Regions from separate parts of the Homo sapiens genome. Here all the other regions are linked to region 2. Evidence: promoter capture Hi-C in 16 types of primary human blood cells and fetal thymus (Javierre and others, 2016). All regions are on one chromosome and are shown on one strand. The core of a region is centred on a gene start or on the middle of the fragment in contact, and the rest is flanking DNA. Distances in the headings are between cores, read along the strand shown.

The links. Contacts are between HindIII fragments. The CHiCAGO score rates a contact against its expected background, and 5 or more counts as called.
Region 1: a contact is called between a fragment that was not itself captured here and the fragment with the promoter of PSIP1 in region 2, in 1 of 17 cell types (total CD4 T cells). The highest score is 5.8, in total CD4 T cells.
Region 3: a contact is called between a fragment that was not itself captured here and the fragment with the promoter of PSIP1 in region 2, in 2 of 17 cell types (total CD8 T cells and total CD4 T cells). The highest score is 7.1, in total CD8 T cells.

Annotation. Positions count from the first base shown.
Region 1 is chr9:19,121,200-19,125,693 of GRCh38, forward strand. It overlaps PLIN2 (perilipin 2), which reads right to left. Exons shown (of 8, transcript NM_001122.4): 4 at 2,366-2,448. Among named protein-coding and RNA genes, the nearest start is that of PLIN2, 4.0 kb to the right of the region's middle. RefSeq lists an enhancer at 2,792-3,086. The HindIII fragment of the contact is 483 bases long and covers 3,004-3,486 here.
Region 2 is chr9:15,508,927-15,513,064 of GRCh38, forward strand. PSIP1 (PC4 and SRSF1 interacting protein 1) reads right to left here and starts at 2,044. Exons shown (of 16, transcript NM_033222.5): 1 at 1,891-2,044; 2 at 1,191-1,403. The coding sequence starts at 1,262. RefSeq lists enhancers at 1,157-2,110, 2,111-3,063, 3,716-4,138 and silencers at 1,170-1,369, 1,470-1,519, 1,650-1,709, 1,720-1,929, 1,950-2,029. The HindIII fragment of the contact is 3,241 bases long and covers 45-3,285 here.
Region 3 is chr9:19,371,607-19,376,151 of GRCh38, forward strand. It overlaps DENND4C (DENN domain containing 4C), which reads left to right. Exons shown (of 33, transcript NM_001330640.2): 32 at 150-214; 33 at 431-2,675. The coding sequence ends at 567. It overlaps RPS6 (ribosomal protein S6), which reads right to left. Exons shown (of 6, transcript NM_001010.3): 6 at 4,109-4,545. Among named protein-coding and RNA genes, the nearest start is that of RPS6, 6.4 kb to the right of the region's middle. The HindIII fragment of the contact is 2,196 bases long and covers 1,991-4,186 here.

The sequences.
Region 1 (4,494 bases), core at 1,995-4,494, 3.6 Mb after region 2:
GAAAAATGAGCACAAGGACATACCTAAGGTCTTAACTAAGGCAGCACAGCTGAAGAGTTAAAGAAGGAATCTAGTCCTCTCACTCTAGCTTTAGGTCTTGGGCAAGTCACTAAGAGTTGATGAGCCTGAATTTCCCTATCAAGTATATCTGCCCTACCTGCCAATCCTTGGGAATTGCAGGAGGAGCAAATGAAGTAAACAGATATGAAATTTGTCTGTTTGCCAAGGCTGCAGTGAGCTGTGATTGTGCCACTGCACTCAGCCTGGGTGACAGAGCAAGACCCTGTCTCAAAAAAAAAAAAAAAAAAAGAGAAGAGAAAAGAAAAAAAAAGAAAAGAAAAGAAGGTAAGTTATATAGCTTATTCCAAAGTCACACAAATCCAGAGAGGAAACTGAAGATCAAACTATACCTGGCCCTCGGGGTGTTATTAGTATGCAGTTATTATACATGGCAGGGCATGGTGGCTCATGCCTGTAATGCCAGCACTTTGCAAAGCTGAGTTGGTTGGATCACCTGAGGTTAGGAGTTCGAGACCAGCCTCACCAACATGGTGAAACCCCGTCTCTACTAAATACAAAAAATTAGTTGGGCGTGGTGGCACATGCCTGTAACCCCAGCTACTTGGGAGACTGAGGCAGAAGAATCACTTGAACCCCAGAGGTGGAGGTTGCAGTGAGCCAAAATTGCACCATTACACTACAGCCTGGGCAACAAGAGCAAAACTCTGTCTCAAAAACAAACAAACAATGACAAAAAAAATTAGCTGGGTGTGGCGGGGCGTGCCTGTGAACCCAGCTACTGGGGAGGCTGAAGCAGGACAATTGCTTGAACCCAGGAGGAAGAGACAGCAGTGAGCCGAGATTGTGCCACTGCACTCCAGCCTGGGTGACAGAGCAAGACTCTGTCTCAAAAAAAAAAAAAAAAAAAAAAAAAAGAACACAAGTTACCAACATTTAAAGAAAATATCCGAAATGGAAAATAACTCTCACCATTAGCACAGTCTCAAGCAATGTAAGTGAAAAATTTAAAAGATTTGCACAAGCATTCTAAAGGCTATACACTAAACCTACCTATAGTTGTGTACCACATAATATTTTGGTCAGCGATGGACCACTATTCAATGATAGTCCCATAAGATTATAATGAACTGCCCTATAACAGGTATACTTTTTTTTTTCACTGTACCTTTTCTAGTTTAGATACACGAATACTTATCATTGTGTTACAGTAGTCAGTGTAGTCATGCTGTGCAGGTTTGTAGCCTAGAAGCAAGCAACAGGCTATATACCATATAGCCTAGGTATATAGCAGGCTATACACCATATAGCCTAGGTATATAGCAGGCTATACACCATATAGCCTAGGTATATAGCAGGCTATACACCATATAGCCTAGGTATATAGCAGGCTATACACCATATAGCCTAGGTATATAGCAGGCTACACCACAAGTCCCTAACCCCCGGGCCATGGACCATTACCAGTCCATTACCAGTCCATTACCAGTCAGAGGCGGCATTAGATTCTCATAGGAGACCTAACCCTAACCCTCTTGTGAACTGTGCACGTGCATGCTCCTTATGAGAATCTAATGATAAATATAGTGCACTTGAATCATCCCAAAAACACCACCCACCCCCTGCTGGTCCATGGAAAAACTGTCTTCCATGGAACCAGTTCCTGGTGCCATAAAGCTTGGGGACCACTGGGCTCTACCATCTAGGTTGGTGTGAGTATACTCTGTGATGTTCACACAATGGCAAAATCACCTAATGTGCATTTCTCAAAATATATTCCCATCACTAAGTGACAGATGACTGTATTTAGATTATGAAAAGACACAGAGCTATATTTTTCCCTAACTGGTATCCTTTTGTGCCATTCTGTATTCTTAATTTGAAACAAAATTTTAGGACATTATCTGAACCAAAGGATCACCAGGACAGACAAGCCTATCATTTTTGTCAACACTGGCTAGCTATCCCATATGGATGGTAGTTCCTGGCAGCATTGTACAAGCCAGGTGAGAAAAGGTTATATATATCACGTCTGCATTTATTTAATACCACAAGACAATCAGTTACTTGAGACAGCAATTTCATTTATAGGAGCAAAGACACAAACTGATAGACAACACACTAAAAGTTTTCTAATCCAAAGGAGGCTAGTTCTTCTCTGCTTCGTAGATACAACTTGACAACAGTTCAGGAAGTAAGGAAGTGGCCATTATTTTTCAAACATACATCCAGATCCAGGTTGGGAAAACAAGTATTTGCCTGTTTGTGATATGTACAGCTTGTTTTAACAGATAGAAGATGAAAACATGTGAAGTGTCAAGTCTCAGCACTTTTGTCCCAAGCTCACCTGAGTTGATGGCTGATTCAGAATAGGCAGTCTCTCCTCAATCCTGTCTAGCCCCTTACAGGCATAGGTATTGGCAACTGCAACTAGAATCACAAATGGGAAAATGTTAATGTAGTACTATAGGTATAGAATGAACACACATTACCATAGGCCTTATAAAAAATGGCAATAATGGGCTGGGCACGGTGGCTCACGCCTGTAATCCCAGCACTTTGGGAGGCTGAGGCAGGCGGATCACGAGGTCAAGAGATCGAGACCATCCTGGCCAACATGGTGAAACCCCGTCTCTACTAAAAATACAAAAATTAGCTGGGCGTGATGGTGTGCGCCTGTAGTCCCAGCTACTCAGGAGGCTGAGGCAGGAGAATCGCTTGAACTCAGGAAGCAGGGGTTCCAGTGAGCCAAGATGCATCATTGCACTCCAGCCTGGGTGACAGAGCAAGACTCCATCTCAAAAAAAAAAAAAAAGGCAAGAATGTTGATCTTATACAACAGAAGGCATTGCCTGGTTTATCTAGTTCTGACAGGAAGAGGCCTGGCAAGTTGCTGGCAACTCTCTTCTAAAGGTAAGGAAATATGGGGGTGTGAGGGAGGAGCAGGCAGAGGCAGTGACAGGCCAAACAGGAAGCTGGCTCTGAAGCTTCTTCCTTATCAACTGGCCCCTAATGTTAATGCCAAGAGTAGCCGGGCTTTCCCTGAACTGTCATTCAGAGAATAAGGTATCTGGAAACTCTCTCAAAATCGGCATTCCCATGCTAGTTTAATCCCTACCTACGCTTACTTCAGCACAGGTCAGTGTATTTGGGGTCCTCAGGAGGAAAGAGTATGCCAAGACCACCCTGGATCTCCCTAACAAGGGAGATTTTAGTGTGAGCTTCCCACTAAGAATACCAAACCAAGTACTAGTACCAAATTCATTTAGGAAGTAGCAGAGTTGGAATGGCTGGTCTCTAAAGGCTCCTTATAATCCTAAAAGTCCCTGGCTTAACCATTTGAAAGAATGATTTAAATCTTTATTCAAAAGCAGTTCATGTTGTGGAGAAATTGGAGCCTCCATACAGTGTTGGTGGGAATGTAAAATGGTACAGCTGATTTGGAAAACAGTCTGGCAGCTCCTCAAAAGCTTAAACAGTTATTATATAACCCAGCAATTCCACTCCTGGGTATATACCAAAAAAACCTGAAAACATGTCCACACAAAAACTTGTATACAAATGTTCACAGAAGCATTATACATAATCTCCAAAAGTAGAACGAACCCAAACATCCATCAGTTGAAGAATGAATAAATATTGTCTGTCTAGACAGTAAATTACTATTCAACAATAAAAAGAGATGAAGTACTGATATGATGTGACAAGACAGATTAACTTTGAAAACATTATGCTTAACGAAAGAAGCCAATCACAAAAAAACCCACACATTTTATGATTTCATTTATAAGAAATATCCAGCATAGGCAAATCTATAAAGACAAAGTAGATGAGTAGCTGCCTCAGGGTGGTTGTTAGGAAATGGGGAGTGACTACTAAGTATGAGAGTATGAGATTTCTCATGGAGTATGACATTTCTATTCTTTATTTCGGTAAAATATACATAACAAATTTCACCATTTCAACCATTTTTAACTGTGCAATTCAGTGGCATTAAGTCCATTTACAACATTATACAACCATCACCACTATCCATTTCTAAAACTCATTCATGGCCAGGCATGGTGGCTCACACCTGTAGTCCTAGCACTTTGGGAGGCCGAGGCGGGCGGATCACCTGGGGTCAGGAGTTCCTGACCAGCCTGGCCAACATGGCAAAACCCTGTCTCTACTAAAAATACAAAATTAGCTGGGCATGGTGGTGTATGCCTGTAATCCCAACTACTCAGGGAGCTGAGGCAGGACAATCACCTGAGCCCGAGAGGCAGAGACTGCAGTGAGCAGTCTCAAATTCCAGGCCTCAAGCGATCCTCCCATCTAGACCTCCCAAAGTGCTAGGATTACAGGTGCAGGCCACCGTGCCCATCCTCTGGGGGATTTTTAATTAAAGGATCATAAACATCTGCCAAAGCTATGAAACAGGCCTTCTGTGGACAGGCGCGGTGGCTCACGCCTGTAATCCCAGCACTTTGGGAG
Region 2 (4,138 bases), core at 794-3,293:
AGTAAGACTGCACCGAAAAGGCAGACTTTATAGGCAAGGAAAAAAGCTTTGGAAGGAAACTTGTGAACAGGAGTTTACGTAGAGCAGCTAGATGGAAGAAAGTCAAGGAACAGTGATCGTTTTACACTTGGATGGCACTCTCAGCTCCTAGACAGGACTCCGTTATCTAATGGGTGTTTTCCACCATTCCCCTGCTGACATAACTAAAACTACAGAATTTAATTATTTTTAAGAAATACATTTTCAAAGGACAGTAAATTAGTCGAAAATAAATGGCTTGGAAAAATAAAACTTCAGAACCCCATGTAAGTATATTTTTAAAGGATCTTGAGTTTACCTAATCTAATTGATTGCAACATATCTTAGGTCCTATCTATCTCTGTTTGAGAGCCTGGGTACCACCATAAACAAAAAGAACCCTTTTTCTAAAAATGGAGCGTAGATCTTTAAACAGTCTCAATTCCTCAATGTCACAAAACATCCTGGGTCCTTAATCATTTCTCTGTACCACTAGATGTGAACTGAGGAATCTGGTCCACACCTCCTTTTTGCCTATTGGAAACAAAAAGGTAAAACAACTTCTTCAAGGTCATAAACATCTCAAATAAAAAAGGAGAAATGAATTTTCTGGCCCTTCCTCGGTACTAAACTACTGTAATACTTTCAAGAATATCCAGTCCTGAATCTGTATTAAACAAGCAAATCCAGAAGGCCTCATCAAGTACAAGGTATTTTTTTTAAAACCCTGTAAATCCAATTTAATCACATACGCACTTCTCTGACATCCAAGTGTTTGTGTGTAATCTGCACAAATTCCATTGATATTTTGTACTTGATCCAAAACTATGGAAATGTCAATGTTTCACTAATTTTTAAACAAAAATTCACTCTTCATTATTTCACCTACAATGGAATATTAACTAGCAACGCATTTAAATATTTCCTAGGAAGAAAATCTGTCCAAGTCTGCCAATAAACCATAGGGAAATACACAGGTATGTAGAAACGTCTGGATTTTCATAATTACACGGGAGATTATTGGGCAAAAAACTAAAATGAAAGGTCAGGTTACAAATGAGACTAAAGCGAGGGAGAGAAAGGACAGAAGAAAAAATAAAGAGACACGGTGGGCAGCAGGCCTCTGGAGAGGAGGGTAGCACTGCTAAGCGCGAGGGCTACAAATCACTTACTCGAGCTGGCCAATGGGGATAACCTTTCATCTTGGCGAAGATGAGGTCTCCAGGTTTGAAATCGCGAGTCATGTTTCGGGGGCGAGACCGGGGGTCCGAAGCCCGGGAGGCGGCGAGGAGATGCGGCGGCGCGGGGATGCGGGCGGCGGACGCGGGCCCAGCTACCGGGCCCGCGGGCGGGGGAGGATGCCTCGGGGCGTCCCGACGCGCCTGCTAGGGAGAGCACCGAGGGCGGTTAAAGCGAAGAACCCCGAAGGGAGGGGCCGCAAGGGGAGGGGGAGGGGAACCGGCGGGTGGGGGTGGGAGAGCGAGGGGACGGCCGCCTCCCGCTCCTCCCCCGCCAGTGCGCTGCCTCCGCGCTGGAGCAGGTCCTCCACCCCGCCACCGAAGAGACGCCACCACCTGAAGCAGGGATGCTGCCCGGCCAGAAATCGCCCGTCTGCCCGCCCCATCTTTCTCCGGGCTTTTTCCACCGAGCTTAAGCCCCAAAAGGGAGGGGGTGCATGGGAGAGAAAAAGGCAGGGATTCCGAGAAGCGAGCGGCCCCCTTCCGCCCACGCAAGGCCTCCCCCGCAACCTGCTGCCCAGCGGCTGCAGCCTCGGCCCCCTCGGCTCCCGGGCGGGCCGCGTCCACTTCCCCGCTACAGCCAGGAGCGACGCCACCGAGGGGGGGGCGGGGCGAGTCCCCGTCGCCCGCTCACCTGCCGGGGCCGCGGGCGCCGACGCTGCGGTTGCTGGCCGGTCGCCTCTACCCGCGTCCACGCAAGCCACCTGCGCCACCAGCTGCCGCAGAGGCGTCTCAACGGCTCGGAATCGCAACCGCGCCGCCGCTGCCGCCGCCGTAGCTGCGCTGCTCCCGCGCGGCTCCCGCTCGGCGCCCGCTAGCACTGGGGCGCGACCAACTGTTTACCGAGAGAGGGGGGATGTTGCAGCACCCGGCGAAGCTGTGTGGCTCCGAAGCGGATTTTCTGGAAACCCTACGTCCCCAAGTTCGCTTTCATGTAACAGGTGCATGCAGATGGAGAGGAAGACGCAAGCGAAGAAGAAAGGACTGGGCGAAAATAGCTCGGCCTGCCGCAAGTTCCCCCTGCGGTTTGCGGAGTGGTCGGGCCCGGCCCGCCCCTGCTGGCTTCTCTGCGTGTGTGTATTTGTATGTGTACTGTATGTAAAAGGCGGGGAGGGAGGAAATGATTGTTGTGGACGCGGTTTTGGGGGCGGGTATCCGGGCCTCTCTCCCTTGGCTGCGTGTTAGGGAGAAAGTGGCAGTAAAGATTCATGTTCTTGTATCGTTTCCAGGGTGGGGAGGTTTGAATGCTGCTTTTGCGCGGTTTGCATCATCCAAAAAAGAGGAGCTGTACGAAAACCCTAAGATGAAATTGGAGCATGCGGCGGTTGCAGGGTGTGCTGCATCTAGGCCTCTTGCACCTCGCTGAATGGGCCTCGTAGTCTCCTTTTCCTTGAAATTGTAGTATGAGAGAGCCCTATTTCATTTCTTTTGCATTTGCATCACCAAGAACTATTAAGAAAAATGCAACCCTACTGAATGCAAAATGCGAAGGGTAGAAAACAATGACAGGAAAACAGAAACCTTTTAGATAGGATGTGAGTTTGGGCCCTAACTAAATTTTAGCTGCATCTAAATTTTATTTCCCTAGTAGAATAGGAGCTGGTAGGTGGTACAATGTGTAAGTGTTACTAAACCTCAAATATTTTCTCTCTTAAAATGCTCTTCAAGGGATTTTAAAGGTTAATTTTTTGATCCTTTAGAGAGGCTGAAAATATTTTTAAAAAGAATGTTAAGACATATAAAAATAAGAATAATAAGACATATATTAGCACCTAGATAATACTGTTTTAAATACGGGACTCAACTGGAAATGAATTAGGAAATTTTTTTTGAATTGGTAAAAATTGAGAATTTTTTGAAAGCGATACAGCATGTCTTTAAAAAGGAATGAAAGAAGACAGTCCCAAAGTAAAATGTCCTGTAAGGAGTTTCGAGAAACTAAGTATACCTGGGCAATATGCAGAGAGTTCCAAGTGGAGCAAAAAGAGAAATTGGCAGAGGAGAAGGAAGGGTTGGTGAAATGTCTTGAAGCTTCTCATTCTGAATATGAATTTAATGTGTGTAGTAGGAAGCTACTATAGGTTGCTCAGCAAGAAGGGGGTAAAAATGATTATTTAACCAGTTCTTGATGTTTCAAGGTAGATGTTAGTAGAAAGAGGCTGGGGGTAACTGGAGTACTCATGAAATGACGCATTTCTCAGTGAGAATGGTGACTAAGAAAAGGGAAGGAAGAGCACAACTAAGTAATTACACAAAGGAATGATTGTCAGGTGTTGGCTATAAATTATGCATAGGAAAAGGTGGAAAAAGATGTATTGAAGAAAAGCTCAAGATACAGAGTAAGAGAGACCAAAGCAGCATCCAGCAATCATTTTTTTGTGTGTATGCACTTTATTTGTTCTAAACCCTGTAAGGCCTTGCTACTTCAAGTGTGGTCCAAGGCCCAGCAGCAAGGGCTTTACCTGGGAGCTCAGGTAAAGCTCAGACCTTCCCCAGGCCTTCTAAATCATAATCTGCGTTTTAACAGGATCCCTAGGTGATTCTTACGCATATTCAAGTTTGAGAAACTGCTTTAGAGGATACCTCAGACTGTAAAAACTTCAAACTAAGAAAAACAGATATATAACAAGTTATAATTAACGTTAAAGATAACTTTTTATTAGTACTAATGGTAGGATTAACAGGTAAAGAGGGGGTAGTTAGTGTTAGAGGGGACCTCAGAAAAGAAATAAAAAAGGGAAAATGGAAAAGCATTGATGTTTTACTATTAGTATTTTCTGTTGTTTTTGTTGTTTTAAAAAAAGGAAGTACCATACTTAGCTCCTGCTGCCTTTAAGTTTTGTCCGCTTCAACCTGTGGTAGTTTGTGAACAACAGGAGATA
Region 3 (4,545 bases), core at 1,839-4,338, 3.9 Mb after region 2:
ACTGTAATGTAATATTAAAACCAGGACATTGACATAGTTATATTACTATTAACTAGATGACAGAACTTAATGTCTTCACCATTAAAAAAAATGCATCTGTGTTTTTATGCTATTTGCCCATTGACTTTTAAAACATATTTGTTTTATAGGAGTTTATACAGAGAAATCCTCTTCTTATCATTAGTGTCTCTAGGAAGAGAGAATATTGATATTGGTAAGTTGGTTAATAAAAGATTATGAAAGGAAGTTTTACATTTTATTTTCAAAAGTAATTTTTAAAAATGTAGCTGGTATGTATAAAAGATTTAAAAGATTTCTACTTCTAAATATATAGTTCAAATACATATAATTTGACTCAATACCAATTTGAAATGAACGGCTGTTGTCTTTCTTAACAAATTACAACTTCATTTTTGAAAATTTCTTTCAGAGGCATTTGACAATGAATATGGAATTGCATACAATAGTCTGTCTTCAGAGATTCTTGAAAGGTTGCAGAAAATTGATGCTCCACCAAGTGCCAGTGTCGAGTGGTGCAGGAAGTGTTTTGGAGCGCCTCTCATTTAAATAGAGATTCACTAGAATGTTGACACACAAGGCTTGGGGATTAGATTTCATCTGGAAACATTCAAGTTTTTTTTTCCAAATCGTAAGAACTGGTGAATACGGAATTGAAGTAACTCTTGGGGACAATATATAATGAATTATGATTCATATTGCATTACCTTGAAATATGAAGTGCCATTTGAATGTCCCAGGGCTTATTAATATTGAAGATTTTCAACCCCTGAACTGCTTTTCTGCCTCTGTGGAAAACTACTTTGGGATTCTTCAGTATTTGTAGTAGTTTGATAGAAATAATGAGGAACCATATTCATTCTAGGCATTGTTTATATTTGAAGTTACTGAGTTTGAGGAATGGCAAATTAAATTTGCCTAACCCCCAAAACAAATGAAATATCTCAATTATAAAAGCAACATGGCCGGGCACGGTGGCTCAGGCCTGTAATCCCAGCACTTTGGGAGGCTGAGCAAGGTGGGTGGATCACTTGAGGCCAGGAGTTCGAGACCAGCCTGGCCAACACGGTGAGACCCTGTCTTTACTAAAAATACAAAAATTAGCCAGGCGCACCACTGTAGTCCCAGCTACTCAGGCTGAGGCAGGAGAATCGCTTGAACTGAGGCAGAGGCTACAGTGAGTGGAGATCACGCCACTGCAACTCCAGCTTGGGTGACAGAGTGAGACCGTCTCAAAAAAAAAAAAAAAAAAAAAAGAGAGCAACATATTTGTGTAAGTTTGTATATGTGTAGGGCTGTGTAGGTATGTGTATATACAGCCATATTCTAAGTGTATATTTATTAAAATAGATTGCATGTTGCAATACGGTTTTCTGAAAGGGGTCTCATTGACTATTAAATAAATGACTACTACTAAACTTGTCTGTAGTCATTAATCTTAAAATTACCTGAAAATCTGATGACAGCTGCCTTCCCTAACTTTAATGTATTAGGTTGGCACAAAATTAATTGTAGTTTTTGCCACTATTAATGGCAAAAACCGCAATTATTTTTGTACCAACATAATACACCTTTCATATTATGTATTATCTTGCTTAATGGGTTTTATCTTGATTATCCAGTTACTTCCATCCTCTTCCCAATGTTAATTTGCAATAGTTTTAAAATGGGAACAAATGAATCAATCATCAGATAGTTAAAATGAAATTAAATCAGCTGCCTAATAATTTATGGAATTCATTGGAATGTGCTTAAAATGCTAAAGTGTATGTCATTGAACATGAAATCTTTTTTCAGGCACATACATTGTTGGTATTGATGACTTTTTAAAACCTGTGGGATAAACTTGCACTGCACACGGAAGTTTTATTCTTGTATATTTAGATTTGTATGCTTGTGAGTAAAAATGTGCATTTGTAAATACTGTGTTTTTAGGTTGAATCAATTAAGTCTTAAAACTGTAAATTTATTAAGCTTGTTGCCAGTAGGTTTAAGAAAATCATGATCTCACATGCCTCACTTTGACATTTATCATGCCTTTTATTAAAAATATCCCTTAGGAACAGTAAGTTTGCCTTAACTCTCTGCATGGTTTAAAAAGCCATTGGTTTTGTGTGTGTTTACAGTAATTATGCAGATGACTAAATGAGTTGACACAGTAAAATTACTTCCATATGGTACAGTAACAACCTAACTCCCTTCTACCTGATGTAACCATTTACAAATTATAGTTATTGTACCAGTCTTTCAACATTTCAGGGTTAATCTGACCTATGCAGAATTCTAGTGTGAATTTATTGTGAAAATGCTAAATGAAACAATTTGTCAGAAATTATGTACAATTTTCATTACCTTCAAAATGGATCTTTTGCACTGTCTGAGAGTATATATTTTTGCAACTCAAGACTTGGTACTAGTTTTAATACTTAACACTTACTGACCCAACAGAAGTTTGGAATTACCTTGCATATAAAAATTGAGGTTGAATAAAATGAAAAATTGTTGTTTTCTGTTACATTAAGCCTCTTGAAATCTGTAATCTTTAGAATCCCAATATTTTGTTTTTTCCATTCCTTCACTCGTAACTTGAACTCAAGTTTTCACTTACTGACGCGCTTCCCATTAAAAAAAATCTGTAAAGATCTCTACCTTGAAAACTTTAGTCTGCTGCTGCCATTTAGATATTGGGACTGATTTCTTGTTATAAATTTTTAAAGGCTTTTTCCAATACCCACCACAGAGAGGGTACCACTAAAAATTTACAAGACAAAAACATTATTATGGAAAGATTTAGAAGTACCTGGAATGACTTGTAGCACTGTATGCAACTTTAATCCTGATAACTTCTAAAAGCAATCTTTCAAATTAGTCCAGATTACTCAGCAGTACCTTATATTGGTTTGGGGTTCGATAGCGATTTTTTTTTCTTCCAACGAACGAATTGTACAGGTTGATCACAACCTGCATAGTTAACGACATGTCAGAATGACTTGCGTGTGTGTGGAGAACTGGGTATGGTGGCTCACGCCTGTAGTAATCTCAACACTTTGGGATGCCAAGGCAGGCGGATCACTTGAGCCCAGGAGTTCAAGAGTAGCCTGGGTAACATAGCAAAACTCTACAAAAAGCACAAAAACTAGCCGCAGTGCACACCTGTAGTTCCCAGGCGGTCAAGGCTGCAGTGAGCCATACCACTGCTCGCCATCCGGGGCGTAGGAGTGAAACCCTGTGTCAAAGAAAAAAAAAAATCTAAGGAAAAACAGACTGTCCTTATTTTGTGGCTGCACTCAATTTTCAGAAAGCAGGGCGGTTCTCATGTTTTGTGCATCATAAACAAGAACTGGTTAATATAAAACTTTGGACCATAACACTGGACTCACCTTGTGGCTTTTAAGTTCCTCTCTCTGCTTGTGCTAAATTTTTTTTTTTTTTTTTTTTTGAGATGGGAGTCTTGCTCTGTCGCCCAGGCTGGAGTACAACAGTGTAATCTTGGCTCACTGAAACCTCAACCTCCCTGGTTCAAGCGATTCTCCTGCCTCAGCCTCCCGAGTAGCTGGGACTACAGGCATGCGCTAATTTTCGTATTTTTAGTAGGAACGGGGTTTCACCATGTTGGCCAGGCTGGTCTTGAACTCCTGACCTCAGGTGATCCACCTGCCTTGGCCTCCCCACCTGGCCATCCCCTTTGCCTTTTAAGTTCTGCATATTATTATTGATTGCCAACTAAGATTCTTTTCATGTTATGTAGCTTTTTAACACCATGTAGTAAGAGGAATAGTTAAGAATCTTAGTAGGCATCGAGGGACTGGCACTACCGGCCTAACACCTGGGAGCTTTTTAGTAATGTAAAAATGTGGGTCCCCACTCCTCTATCAATCACTATCTGCGCCTTAACCAGACCCCTAGGTGATTCACATGTACATTTAACATTTAGAACTCTGCTTTGTAAAGCTATTATTACAGTAATGCCAACAAAGAGCTTGCATTACTTCAACCTTAAAGCCTAATGTGCCACCTTCTAAAGATCCTGATATTGTCACAATAGGCTAGTCAGCATAGAACTGTTAGAAAAAAGTACATACTTTGTGCATTTTTCACTGATCCAAGAATGTTTTTAGTCATTTCCTTTTCAGTGTGTGAACAGCCTAACAATTCACTGGAGTTGAAAAGCTTTGTTAAAACAAATTTGAAATGGCTTAAAAACCATTTAGTGGATGGTATCCACTAAAACTAGGTATCCACTAAAACTATGCCTTAAAAGTTACCTTTTAAAAAAGACATGTTCATCTTCACAAGGTCAATTTTCATGTATTAAATTGTGTATAGTGCTTTAAAGAGCTATATTCCTCAAAAATAAACTATATAAAAAAGATTAATAGTCCTCATCATTTCCCCTAAGTTCCATGCCATTCTGAAGAGGCAGGTGTCTTATGCTCAGAATCCCTTCCTGTGCCACCCATCCCCTGAAAGGAACCCCTGTACACTGACCTTGTCTTCCACTACCACACACAATAGGTCTGACTTTAT